2 separate regions of the Homo sapiens genome follow, and region 1 is linked to region 2. The links are contacts of gene promoters, found by promoter capture Hi-C in human tissues and cell types (Jung and others, 2019). All regions are on one chromosome and are shown on one strand. The core of a region is centred on a gene start or on the middle of the fragment in contact, and the rest is flanking DNA. Distances in the headings are between cores, read along the strand shown. Region 1 has its middle 49 kb from the start of CGGBP1. Region 2 holds the start of EPHA3 (EPH receptor A3).

Region 1 (6,660 bases), core at 2,517-5,016, 1.1 Mb before region 2:
AGAGAGCCAACAATGCCAATCATTCACACGTGGTCAAGAATAGCGCTTATGCCCACCAGTCAGACTAGAAAACCCTATGATTCATAAATCATTGGGAATAGTACATGGAAAGGTCTTGTCTCAATGAAAGGGATTAATTAGCACTAGTCTAAGTATTGAGCTTCTCTCATCAAAGAAATCTTATATTCGAGACCCAAAAGGTCAAACTGTTTTCAAGTAACATAGCCGTAACTCAGAACAAAGCTTAAAAATTCTTATAGGAATGCAAAAATATTCAACACCCAACGAGGTAAAATTTACATCATCTGGCAACCCATAAATAATTATTAGGCCTGGTGAGAAGTGGGAAAATAAGTCATTCAATCAAAACCAAGCTAGAATGGTCAGCACATGTTAGAATTAGCAACCAACAATATTTTAAAAGTTATAGTTGTATTCTATACATTTGAAAAGTTCAATAGAGATGTAAAATATATTTATTAGACCCAAACCAAAGTTTTAAAGGTTAAAACTACAATGTGTAAAATGAAAATGCTGAATGTAGTTAATGGCAGATTAGCATTTCAGAAGAACAGATTGGAAGATTAGTAAGTTTGAATATACAGCAATAGAAACTATCCAAAATAAAACCACAGAGAACAGGGAATTTTTTTGTAATAAACAGATCTGTGAGCTGTCACATAATTGAAACAGACTAATGTACACATATCTATAAGTGCCTAGAGGACGTTTCAAAATGGGGAGAAAGAAAAATTATTTGAAGAAATACAACTGAAATTTTTCTAAATTTGATGAAAACTATAAAGCCACAGAGCCAGGAAGTTCAACAAACCCCAAGCACAAGAATCATAAAGGAAAATACACCAAGGTACATTACAAACAAATTGCTCAAAACCAGGGTAATCCTTTTTTTTTTTTTTGAGAGGAGAGTAGGCTTTATTATTCTTTATATTTTACAAATGAAGAAACATCCATTCCTCAGTCAGTGAGTCAATTGAACAACATTTATCAAATATCTGTTCATTCATGATACAATGTGAATGTATCATGGCAGGCCACACCTGCAAGTCTTTGGAGACATGAGTGTAACTGTAAATATTAAGGGTCTATAAAAAGTCAATGAATCAATTAGAGATAAAATTCTGTTTCATTAAGATGAATTCTTAATGATGGATTCAACCAACCACATTTTATTCTTTTATTCTGTGAGTTCCTTTCAAAAAAAAAAACTTATTTTGGGTTCGGGTGTACACTTGCAGGTTTTTTATACAGGTGAACTCGTGTCACAGGGGTTCATTTACAGATGATCTCATCGCCCAGGTACTAAGCCTAGTACCTAATAGTTATTTTCTCTGCCCCTCTCCCTCCTCTCACCCTCTACCTTCAAGTAGGCCCCAGTGTCTGCAAGGCAATCCCAAGCAAAAAGAACAAAGCTGGAGGCATCACACTACTTGACTTCAAGCTATACTACAAGGCTACAGTAACCAAAACAGCATAGTATTGGTACAAAAGCAGACACACAGACCAGTGGAACAGAATAGAGAGCCCCAAAATGAGGCCACACACCTACGACCATCTGATCTTCAACAAAGCTGACAAAAATAAGCAATGGAGAAAGGATTCCCTATTCAATAAACAGTGCTGGGATAACTGGCTAGCCATAGGCAGAAGATTAAAACTGGACCTCCACCTTACAACATACACAAAAATCAACTCAAGATGAGTTAAAGACTTAAATGTAAAACCCAAAACTGTAAAAGACCTGGAAGACAACCCAGCCAATACCATCCTGGGCATAGGAACGGACAAAGATTTCATGACAGAGATGCCAAAAGCAATCACAACAAAAGCAAAAACTGACAAATGGCAAATGGGATCTAATTAAACTTAAGAGCTTCTGCACAGCAAAAGGAACTATCAACAGGGTAGACAGACAACCTACAGGATGGAAGAAAATATTTGCAAACTATGCATCTAACAAAGCTCTAATACCCAACATCTATAAGGAATGTACAAAAATTTACAAGAGAAAATCAAACAACCCCACCAAAAAGTGAGCAAAGGACATGAAGAGGCACATTTCCAAAGAAGACATACATGCGGCCAACAAGCATATGTAAAAAAGTTCAACATCACTGATCATTAGAGAAATGCAAATTAAAACCACGATGAGATACCATCTCACACCAGTCAGAATAACTATTATTAAAAAGTCAAAAAATAACAGATACTATCAAGGTTGCAGAGAAAAGGGAACTCTTATACACTGTTGCTGGGGGGTGTAAACTAGTTCAACCATTGTGGAAAGTAGTGTGGCAGTTTCTCAAAGAGCTAAAAACAGAACTACCATTTGACCCAGCAATCACTTAAATAGTGTCTAAGTTCATTCACTTAGATAGTGTCTGTGGCTGCTTTCACATTATAACAGAAGAGTAGGATTTAGAAGGAAATTGGCACTAGATGCCAATATTGGATATAAAAACACCACTAAAGCAGTACTTAGAGGAAAATCTATACTACTAAGTGCCATTATTAAAAAAAGAGAAAGGGCGGAGCGCAGTGGCTCACGCCTGTAATCCCAGCTCTTTGGGAGGCCAAGATGGGTGGATCACTTGAGGTCAGAGTTTGAGACCAGCCTGGCCAACATGGTGAAACTCCATCTCTACTAAAAATAGAAAAATTAGTCGATCGTGGCAGCAGGCACCCAAAATCCCAGCTACTCGGGAGGCTGAAGCAGAAGAATGGCCTGAACCCAGGAGGCGGAGGTTGCAGTGAGCCGAGATTGTGCCATTGGACTCCAACCCGGGCGACAGAGTGAACGTGACTGTCTCAAAAAAAAAAAAAAAAAAGAAAAAGAAAGAAAAAGAAAAGCATCTTGAATAAACGATTTCAGCTTGCACTTTAGGAGTAGTATAATTTGACACAGCCTCTAGGGCCCACAAAGCCTAAAGCCTAAAATATTTACTATCTTCTCTTTAAAAAAAAGTTTACTGATGCATGATATAGAATATTAGAATTTGACCTAATAGATATTTATAGAGTATGCCATCCAACAATAGCATAATGCACATTCTTTTTAAGTGCACATGGAACACTTATCAAGAGTGACTGTATTCTGAGCCATAAAACAAGTCTCAATTCAAACGGATTAAATCCACACAAAATGTGTTCACTAGTCATGATAAAATCTAATATCAAAAAGTTATCTGGAATATTCTCAAACATGTGGAAACTAATTGATACAACTCTAAATAACTTAGAAGTTAAAGAAGAAAACTAAAGAGAAGTCAGAAATTATTTTGTATTGAATGTGAAAACAGAACATATCAAATTTTGGGGAAATGCCAGTAAAGTATTACTTAAGAGGAAATTTATTATAAGAGCCAGTATTAAAGAGAAAAAGGTCTCAAATAAATTACTTTAGCTTCCACCTTAAGAAACTATTTTAAAAGATTAAATTAATTCAAAGTAATAGAAGAAAGGAAATCATAAATACCAGAGCACAAACTAATGACATAAGAAAGAGAAACATCAATGAAACCAGAAGTTGGTTATTTCAGAAGATCAATAAACTTGATAAACCGCTAGCCAGATAGATCATGAAAAAGAGAGAAGATACAGTGAGAGAGGGGACCTCATAAAAGAATCTACAGTTACTAAAGAATAATAAGGAAATACGAACAACTTTATGCCTATAAATTTACACCTTAGATGAAGTGAAAAAAAAATCTTGAAAGACAGAAACTACCAAAGCTCACTCAAGAAGAAATACACAACCTAATAACCCTATATCTATTAATAAATTTGAATCTATAGTTTAAAATCTTCCCATAAAGAAAACCCCAAGCCACTTTGCTTCACTGTCAATACTACCGAACATTAAAGGAAGAAACAATACGAATTCCTCACAAGCTCTTCTAGAGAACTGAAATGAAGAGATGTTCTAATCACTTCCTACTCACCCTGTTCGTTAAGGAGGAGTCCCCACCCTGAGTAGAACAAGATAGCCAAACACACAACACCTAACACTGTACCGATGAGACTAAGAAATTAAGAGATTAAGCTTAGTCACATATACAGTACTCACAGGCCAGGGAAGATGATACTGCAAGCCACATGGCCACATGAAGCTTGCACTCAGCAAAAGAGTAAAGCAGAAACTGTGGGAGGCAGGCCATGTAGGGAAAACGGGGTGGGGTGACCACTGGTTCCTATGGGAGGATGTGATTGGCTTCTTTGAATAATTTTACAAGCTGACAGGGAAATAAAACCTCTTAGGTTGAAGACTAGGTAGAGTGCAATTGGTCCAGCTAATAGAAGAACTAGCTGGGCAGAGAACCTTTCACACTGGTGGGGGGCAAATCTGATAAGAGCATGAGAACACACACCTAGGCCTTGGAAGCCCCGGAGGCTCGAAGATGTCAGGGCAACCCATGGAATCTCAGGCCTCACAGTATAAGGGAATGCATACCAATTCATTCTATGATGCTAGCATTACTATGACAAAAAAAAAAAAAAGACATTACAAGGAAAAAAACTATGTGCTAATATTTCGCACATAGGTTTAAAATTCTGAACAAAATTTTATCAAATTAACCCAACAATATATAACAGAAAATGCACCATTGTTTCTTGGATTGTTTGTTTGTTTTCTGTTGCCCAGGATGGAGTGCAGTGGTGCAATCTCGGCTCACTGCAACCTCTGCCTCCCAGATTCAAGTGATTTTCCTGCCTCAGCCTCCCGAGTAGCTGGGGTTACAGGCACATGCCACCACACCCAGCTAATTTTTGTATTTTTAGTAGAGACAGGGTTTCACCATGTTGGCCAGGCTGGTCTCAAACTCCTGGACTCAAGTGATCCTCCCACCTCAGCCTCCCAAAGTGCTGGGATTACAGGTGTGAGCCACCCACCTGACTCACCATTGTTTTTCAAGTGGGATATTTATCCCAGAAATGCAAGGTTAGTTTAACATTAAAGAATCAATCAAAGTTTTAAGAATTGTATGTTCATCTCAATAGATTTGACAACACCCATTTCTGATTTAAAAAATAAATAAATAAATCTTAGTCTTAGCCCAGTGGCTCACGCCTATAATCCCAGCACTTTGGGAGACCAAAGCAGACAGATTACTTGAACCCAGGAGTTTGAGATCAGCCTGGGCAGCATGACGAAACCCAGTCTCTACAAGAAATTCAAAACATTAGCCTGTCATGGTGGCACACACCTGTAGTCCCAGCTACTAGGGAAGCTGAGGTGGAAGAATTACTTGAGCCCAGGAGGCTCAGTGAGCTGAGGCTGTACCATTTCACTCCAGCCTGGGCAATAGTGAGACCTTGTCTCAAAAAATAAAATTAAATTAAATAAATAAATAAATAGTAATCAGATTAAAATTTTTTAAAATCTTGGTAAAATAGAAATAGAAGAGAAATCTTCGATCAGATATAGAGCATTTATTAAAAATCTATAACTAACATCATACTTAATGGTGAAAGATTGAATGCCTTCCTCCTAGGATCAGGAAAAAAAATCACAAATATTTCTACTTCTATTCAACATTGTGCTAGAGGTTGTAGTCAGTGTGAATAGGCAAGAAAAAATAAATAAGAGGCACCTGGTTTGAAAAGAAAGAAGCAAAATTCTCTTTATTAGCAGTTGTGAGTAGATTATAAATTAATAGAAACCCAATAAAATCTTCAAAAAATTTATAGAACAAATAATTTATCAAGACCATGGGATAGAGAAACAATACACAAAAACTGATATTTCTATAATCTCTAAACCACAGATGGGCATAACACATTTGCCAATTATATATAGAATAAAAAACTTGTATTCAGACAGTATAAAGAAACTCAATAGTAAGAAAATGAACAACTCAGTAAAAATTGGCAAATGATTTGACCAGATACTTTATCAAAGAAAATAGCAAATGGAAAATAAGCATATGAAAAGATGGTCAGCATCATTAGTTATCAGGGAAACACAAACTAGAATCATTGAGATACAACTCTACATCTATTAGAATGGCTATATTTTAAATAAAATTAAAAACTGATCATATCAAGTGTAGGAGAGAATGTGGATGAACTGGAATGCTCTTAATACTGGTGGGAATAATAATAGTGGGAATGTGGGATAGTACATACACTTTGCAAAACAGTTTAGGCAGTTCAGTTTCTTTAAAAGTTTGTCATACACCTACTCTATGATCCAAACGCTCCACATTCCACCCAAGAGAAATAAAAGCATATATACATACAAACACTGGTACATGAATGTTGATAGCAGTTTTATTTGTAAAAGCTAAAAAGTGGAAACCAAATTCCATCAATAGGTAAATTTGCACTAAAATGGAATGAACCATTGATAAGCACTCCCATATGGCTGAATCTCAATATAATTATTCTGAGTAAAAGCCAGAAGAAGAGTACATACTATTTTATTCATACATACAAAATTTAGAAAATGAAAACTAACGTGTGGTAACAGCATGGAAGTGGTCTCCTGGGGTTGGGGACCAGTAGGGACCAGCAGGAAGGATTACCAAGGGGCTTCAGAAAATTTTTATGGATAATGGATACATACGTTCATCACGTTCATGGTCTCATGCGTGCACACATACATCAAAGCTTAGCAGACTGTACATGTTACATACATAT
Region 2 (6,876 bases), core at 1,427-3,926:
TTTATCTTTCTTCTTTCTGAGAGATCCTAGTTCAGTTCCTTATCACTTCAGTCTTACTTGAAAAATAGCCTGAAGTCTAACTGGCCTACCTCTAATATTCCCTCCTTCACATTGGGCAGTGGTTCTCCAGGGACCCCAAGGATTACCTGAGAAGCTTTTGTGAAATTGCAGATTCCTGGGTTCCAACCTCGGAGGTTTAGGTCCAGTAAGTCTGTGGTGGGAAGAAGGCATCACTTCTTAATAAGCATTGCACCCAGGTGGAGACATCCTGTTTTATGCTATTAGTAAACTTTTGTCCCCAGACTGAGACATGATCAATTTACTACTTGCTGAAATGCTTTTGATGTCTCTCTTTAGTTTAAAATATATTGTAAAATCATTGACATGTGGCATCGAAATCTCTGTAGTTTTCAACCAGTCCTTTGAAGAATATTTCCCTACATTTTGTCTCCAATCCATACCTCCTCCTATTCCGGCCCTTTACCTACCACAAATACTCTAATATACTCTGTATTCCATATGTGCCAAATGCTTTCATTTTTGGCTCACTTGGACACTCTCTGGACTTGCCTGCCTGCAGTTCCTTCTGAATCATTTTCTTACTAGTGAACTCCTACCCATCCTTCAAGCTGCAACTCAACTACCACTTTCTTAATAAGGGCTTCCCTGCATCTGCTGCCCCCACCTCATCCTTTCCACTCCTGCTATGGTTGCTCTTCTCTGCTTATTGGCATCACTCCCTTTTCCCCATCTGTCCAGAATGGCGCCTACATAATGGAAACCTTTTACTTTTCACTAGAGAGTTGACAATTTAGAGATTCTATATCATTTACATTCTATTTTCAGGCCAGGTATTGCTTTGTACTCATTTTGCCACTCCTGTAGCTTTCTGCAAACATGAATGCCTTTTTTCCCAGTGACAAGCAGTTTTTAAGTTTTCAAGTGTGAAAAGAGAAATAGCATGAGGGGCGCCAATGGATCTGCGTGTCAGCACATTGGCAGATTCTCCAAAATGTTTTCAAATTGTCAATTCCAAATAAGATTTTAGTTTCTTTCAAGTTTCAGAAAACGTGTATCTAACTTTGGAACAATGTAAGTGTTGTGCTGGAACTTTGAAAAAACACCAGAGTCACCACTGTCTAAGTTCTCTGGGCAGTATCTGCTATTATTTTCAATTCTGACAGACTTGGCACTTGAGGATTGCGCAGCCTCTGGTGACACAATGTGGAAAGAAGTTAGAGACACAAAGTAACATGGCATACACAGAAAAGTGAGAAGGATCTCTCTTTTCCCCTGGCTGCTTCTATCCACCCCAATTCCCCACCCCAGTCATCAAACTATTATCTGGCACCATTAACTTAAATTCAAGTGAAAATTGTGTTCTCTAACTAAAAACATTGAGTTTGTGGACTGAATACATTATTAGCAAGGGCTTTTCAAACTTTCATTTAAGTTTCATTATCAAGAGCTCTAAAATTGATCACTGATCTTAAGATTATCAACATACCTTTATTTTCTGAAGTTGTGAGAGGAATATAATAATCTTGTTTTCTTTTTAGTATAAGAAGAGATAGATGGGCGGAAGGATATCTGAGTAACCATTTTCTGGGAGATATTTTAAAGATAAGTGATGCTGGTTATTAAAATATAAATTACAAAATTGTTTGGCTGAACTAGATTGCAATAGGTTGTTCAGCAATGGGATTGGAAATAACAGAGACCATTGATAGTCATGGTGTAAAATAAGTGAGAAAGTACGAGGACATTATTATTTAGCTTTTGGATTTGGAATGTTAAAGAATAAGAATACCCCAATATTATTAGACTATCAGTGGTTGAAAGTTGAATGGAGGAGCTGTGAATTATGCATTGTTTCTCTTGCAGAACCCAGAGATCCTAATGTGAGATGGTGAGGGAGGGGGATATGTATTATTAAGAAATTTAGGTTTGATCTGTATTACTTTTACAACACAGAACGAGAAAAGAATGTAGACCTCCGGCTGGGGTTAGACTTGCTCCCTTCCGTAAGATGATGAAGGTCAACTTCCCTGTTTGAAAAAAAACAAAGTATGCTCTATGTGCGCGGAAAATCACTGTGCCAGATCTAGTAAAAAGCCACGATACCATTGGGTGTGGAAATGCAGAGACCCTCTGATTCAGGCTGTGTATTAGTGTCTTTCTGAATCACAAAGAACTCATGGAGAGTTATGATCACATTGAACACAGTAAAGGAATAACTATAATCATTTTTTTCAATTATACAAACATGATTGACTTTTTAACGAAAGACTGCTATTCTTTCAAAACACACGTTTCTCTCGCATTTCAGTTCCTTTTGCACTCACATTGCCATATGATACTCCTATCAAGGCTGTGATTTCTTCGGTGAATTAAGCAACAGAGCATGGATAGCAAACAATAAAACAGCTACTTTTCATGCAACACAAAAGAGGGAGCATTTTTCTCAGCACCGCGGCCTCATCACATCTTCTGTGTTTCCTGTCCCATGGGCGACGCCCCCACTCCCACCCGGTCTCCTTCCCGAGCAGCTCTGGGCTGCAGAGCCAGCTGCGTGCCATCCCGCTCTGCTTCAGCGCACGCTGAAGACGGCACTAGGACCCAGGGAAGTCCCCGAGCGGGGTTCGCGGAAAGGCAGCCAGACTCCTCCTTATCTCCAGTGTCAAACTTGACATCAGCCTGCGAGCGGAGCATGGTAACTTCTCCAGCAATCAGAGCGCTCCCCCTCACATCAGTGGCATGCTTCATGGAGATATGCTCCTCTCACTGCCCTCTGCACCAGCAACATGGATTGTCAGCTCTCCATCCTCCTCCTTCTCAGCTGCTCTGTTCTCGACAGCTTCGGGGAACTGATTCCGCAGCCTTCCAATGAAGGTAAGCCAGGTACCGCGACGCACGGAGCTCTGCCCCGCGGGGCTCACGCTCTTCAAAGCACGTTCTCACCGAAGCCTTGCACGTCGGGAAGGTGCCTCCGAATAGAGCAGTTTGCTCTGAGAGTGAAGGAAAGATGTGCCTTTTTTTTTTCCAACTGTCTTCTAAAACACTTCAGGAGATAATTTTAGATGGTCTAAACTTTGAAAATGTGTTTTTAATCTGACACCATTTCGAGCAATTACCTTGTTTGCCAATTTGAGCAGAAAGAAAGAAAGAAAATCCTCCAGCGTTGCAACCCAGTTATGTTAATTGCCAAATAGCCAAGGCAGTATTTTATTTTCTAATTATGACCATGTGGTACTCCGAGAAGTTTGAAAGAAAATTCAGCCTTCCTCTCTAGACTCTTTAGTATGTTTAAAGGTAATGACAGGTTGTTCCTACTTGGGATCATGGCATTTATGAATGGACTAAAGGGAAATCAGAGTTTGTCGAAGCGGAGGTGCGTGTTTATGGTGCAAGGGCTGTGTTGAAGTTGTGTGTATCCCGCCAGGCAATGGTTTGCTCTATGGTACAGGTTCTAAAGAGCAGCATATGCCACATTAACGTAAGTAATATTTGCAAGAATTACAATAAGCTTAGGTTGGATTCTCTTTGTTTAAAGGCTTATATACAAATAGGAGAATGTATTTAATGAATAGTGGATAGCTCCTGGGAAGATATAGTAAATAACTGAATAGTAGATTAAGAGAGAATGTTCATATGCAGCAAATGGCATTTCCTTGATGTTGTGTTATTTATTATCCTTGTAATGAGCATTAATTCCTTTTCAGTGGGTTAAAGTGCAAACCTAATGTTAAGGACACCAATGTGTTCTATAAGATTGTGTACTTAATACATACATTTTCTTTCTCCTGTATTCCTTTTGTGATCTATTCTTGTGAATACAGTCACTAACTCGTAAAACAAACTTCTCTAAATAATTGATTAGTGTAAAGCCACACTTACAACATTAATTTCCTCTTAGTGATTTTGAACTTATAACAGTAACATTTAGCAATTTATTTTGCAAGTTAACAATACCGAGCAACTGATGTGCAAACATCATGTTATATACATCACTCCTTAGAAAATATATTGTCAAGCCAATACTGTTGTATATGTACCTTAATTTTAAAAACACGAGTAAAAACAAAATACTTAGAAAGTTTTTTATTAAATGTAATAACTGCCTGATACTCGGTGACCTACTTTCACTGCTAATAGAGCAGTAATTTATCTCCTTCCTTACTGACTGCCTTTATCAATTTGGCAGTTTTCATTAAATGTTCTGAATCTTTTTTCTAAATAAGAAAATGAAAATTCTAAAATATAAGGATCAAGAAAATTATCTTACCCACAAATGACTTTTTATTTTACAAACCAAATTAAAATGTTTATTTGAAAGTAAGAGTCAATCATTCTTCCTGAATGAAAGGTAAGAGTATTCATTTGTATAACGGGTAACATGTATAATAGGTAACATATCAATAAATTAAACTTAATGTTTTAAAAATTTTTGTTCTTTGCAGATATTAAAATATTGACAATAACTAGAAAAATAGTATTAAAATTCCCACATTGTCATGATAAATTATATTTTCCAGATAGAATGGTTATGAACTATGTAGATATGGATATTACTGAATTAATTATGCACAAGAATGTAGCTGTTAGTCAGTATTTTTGTGGAAAACAACCTTTAAGTAAACTGCAAGAGAAAAAAAAAGACACCAAACTATTTCACACCTATGTAAAATTAATCAGTATTAATTTAATGAAACAGAGTTAATCAAATACAAATTGCTTTTAAGCCTCACCTCATGTATGTTTGGGGATATAATGTATATAATTATACAGACAGGTACACATTAACCATATGGATATAGAAAGGTAAATATATTCAGAAAGCTGACATAATTGCATTTAATTTGCTTGGATGAAAGTTTATCCATCATTCATGGGATTATTCCTTCCAGATTGTGTCCTATGGGTAGTGTCTCTTTTCCTTCCTGTGATTGTGAAGGGAAGCTTTAAAACAAATTTAAGATGATTTAACTTAGGTAATACTTGAGTGAGATTTTAAATATTATCCATAGCTGGGCTCTCAGTTGAGTTGAATAACATGAAAAGTGAAAATGCCAAGTATGTGCCAAGATTTCCGTGCAATTTTTCTAACAATGTAATTTAAATAGAAAGCAATTCTTTTGAAAATGTATATATGAGAGGAGTGGTGATTTAAAAATGGTATTAATGTAGTTTTCTGATATAATTTTTTAATTTTGAAATATGAAATACTAGACTGTATTTAAAATATTATGATTGAAATATTTCAACACTGTAAAAAATTTATGAGAAATTTACTGAAACATATTTACTAGAATATATTCTTCAATCTGTTATGAAGTTAGGCATTTGAGAACCAAAGAGAACAAAACCAGGCCATTGACTTAATTGCTAGGACATTTGCAGTTGTGTGATGTGTTTTTTAATTTAAGATTTAATCATTAAACATCAATATTGAAATGCCATGGGTCCCTGATAAGAAAAATAACTTAGAAAATGTTTAATCTGAATTTTCCTTCTATTAATGTATTTACAAATATCTCTCTTATATGCTTTCAAGAAAATGACTCCAGGTGATAATAGGGACTCATCAACGATAACAGATATTCATAATTCCAATGATCACTTGACTCAGCAATTGGCCTATATACTTAAACAGAACTTTATAAAAACTTTATTAAATTCTTATCAGGTCTCTCTGTTTACATGGCTTAAGAAAAGACTTTTAATGGGAGATCAGCTGTTTTTCATGGCAAAATATGATTGCTACACTACGTATTATTTTAAAAGTTCATATACTTACTCCTAGTTTCCATACCACAGGGATGATTAATGGTAAACAGAAATAACATTGGAACAAAGTTAAAACTGGATATAAAATAAAATTATCAACTGTGGTTACTTCAACCCTTTCAGAATTGGTAAAAATACTTTCTTTAAACACTTTTATACATTTATGGCAGTCTGGGGTACAATGCACTATTAATTCATCAGCACATAATACACTAAATCATTTTTTCTATCCAAAAGAGTTCATAAATTGGATTAACATTTACCTAGAAAGCTCTTTATATTGAAAATAGAGTATCCAAAATAAAACTGAATAAAATTAAATATTCATATTTATATACTACTTTTTTAAAGACTTTTTTTAGTAGCTAAGACACTATTTCTATGAAATGCATTTCCCTAAATATAAATATTCTAAATACTAGAGGAAACTATGCAATTGTTTAAAACTTAAAAGTAAAACTTGCATATGAATATTATAAGCTTCCCTTTGAGTAGTAGGCAAATGTTGGAGAAAATAAATAATCAATTTTTTCATTTTTAAAAATTACAATAAATTGGCATCACTTTTCATATATAAACACTTTTCCTCAAATAAGAACACACTGTGATTAAAACATTAATAGAGAACTAAGCTATCATATCATCTTTATAAGTTTTTTTGGTTTGGAAGAGGGTTTACATTTGCTTTTCATAGCATTTCATCATGCTAGACTAAATAATTGAATGCATTATACATTTTTGTAATTTAATAGCTCTCCTAATAGCTCACCCCTACATCCCCCCCCCACCCCGCCTCCATGGTTAACTGTGCTATTTGCCTGAAGGTAGGAGAAACCTTATTTTCACTATTTTATAACCCACAACAGTTAACACTTGACCTAGGTCATTAACAGGATTATCAGCAAATTTGTTTAAGCTTTTACTGACAATCTGAATTGCTACGATAATATTTTGAATGTCCCGTAAAGAAACTTTTTGTAACCTCTCAAAATCTATCACAAAATTAATTCATTCTGAATCTATATCTTTGTAAAGACTAGTATCTATAATAATAATTTGAGTGGTGAAAAGGTTCACTCGGATACCTCA

Evidence for each region. The method cuts DNA at HindIII sites, captures the fragments that hold promoters and counts their contacts. A contact is called where the count stands out against the background at its distance.
Region 1: a fragment that was not itself captured here is called in contact with the fragment with the promoter of EPHA3 in region 2 in 1 of the 25 tissues and cell types used here (dorsolateral prefrontal cortex).

The regions. Positions count from the first base shown.
Region 1 is chr3:88,006,966-88,013,625 of GRCh38, forward strand. No RefSeq gene overlaps it. Among named protein-coding and RNA genes, the nearest start is that of CGGBP1, 49 kb to the right of the region's middle. The HindIII fragment of the contact is 3,227 bases long and covers 2,154-5,380 here.
Region 2 is chr3:89,104,945-89,111,820 of GRCh38, forward strand. It overlaps EPHA3 (EPH receptor A3), which reads left to right and starts at 2,677. Exons shown (of 17, transcript NM_005233.6): 1 at 2,677-2,892. The coding sequence starts at 2,805. RefSeq lists an enhancer at 2,519-2,658. The HindIII fragment of the contact is 4,313 bases long and covers 1-4,242 here.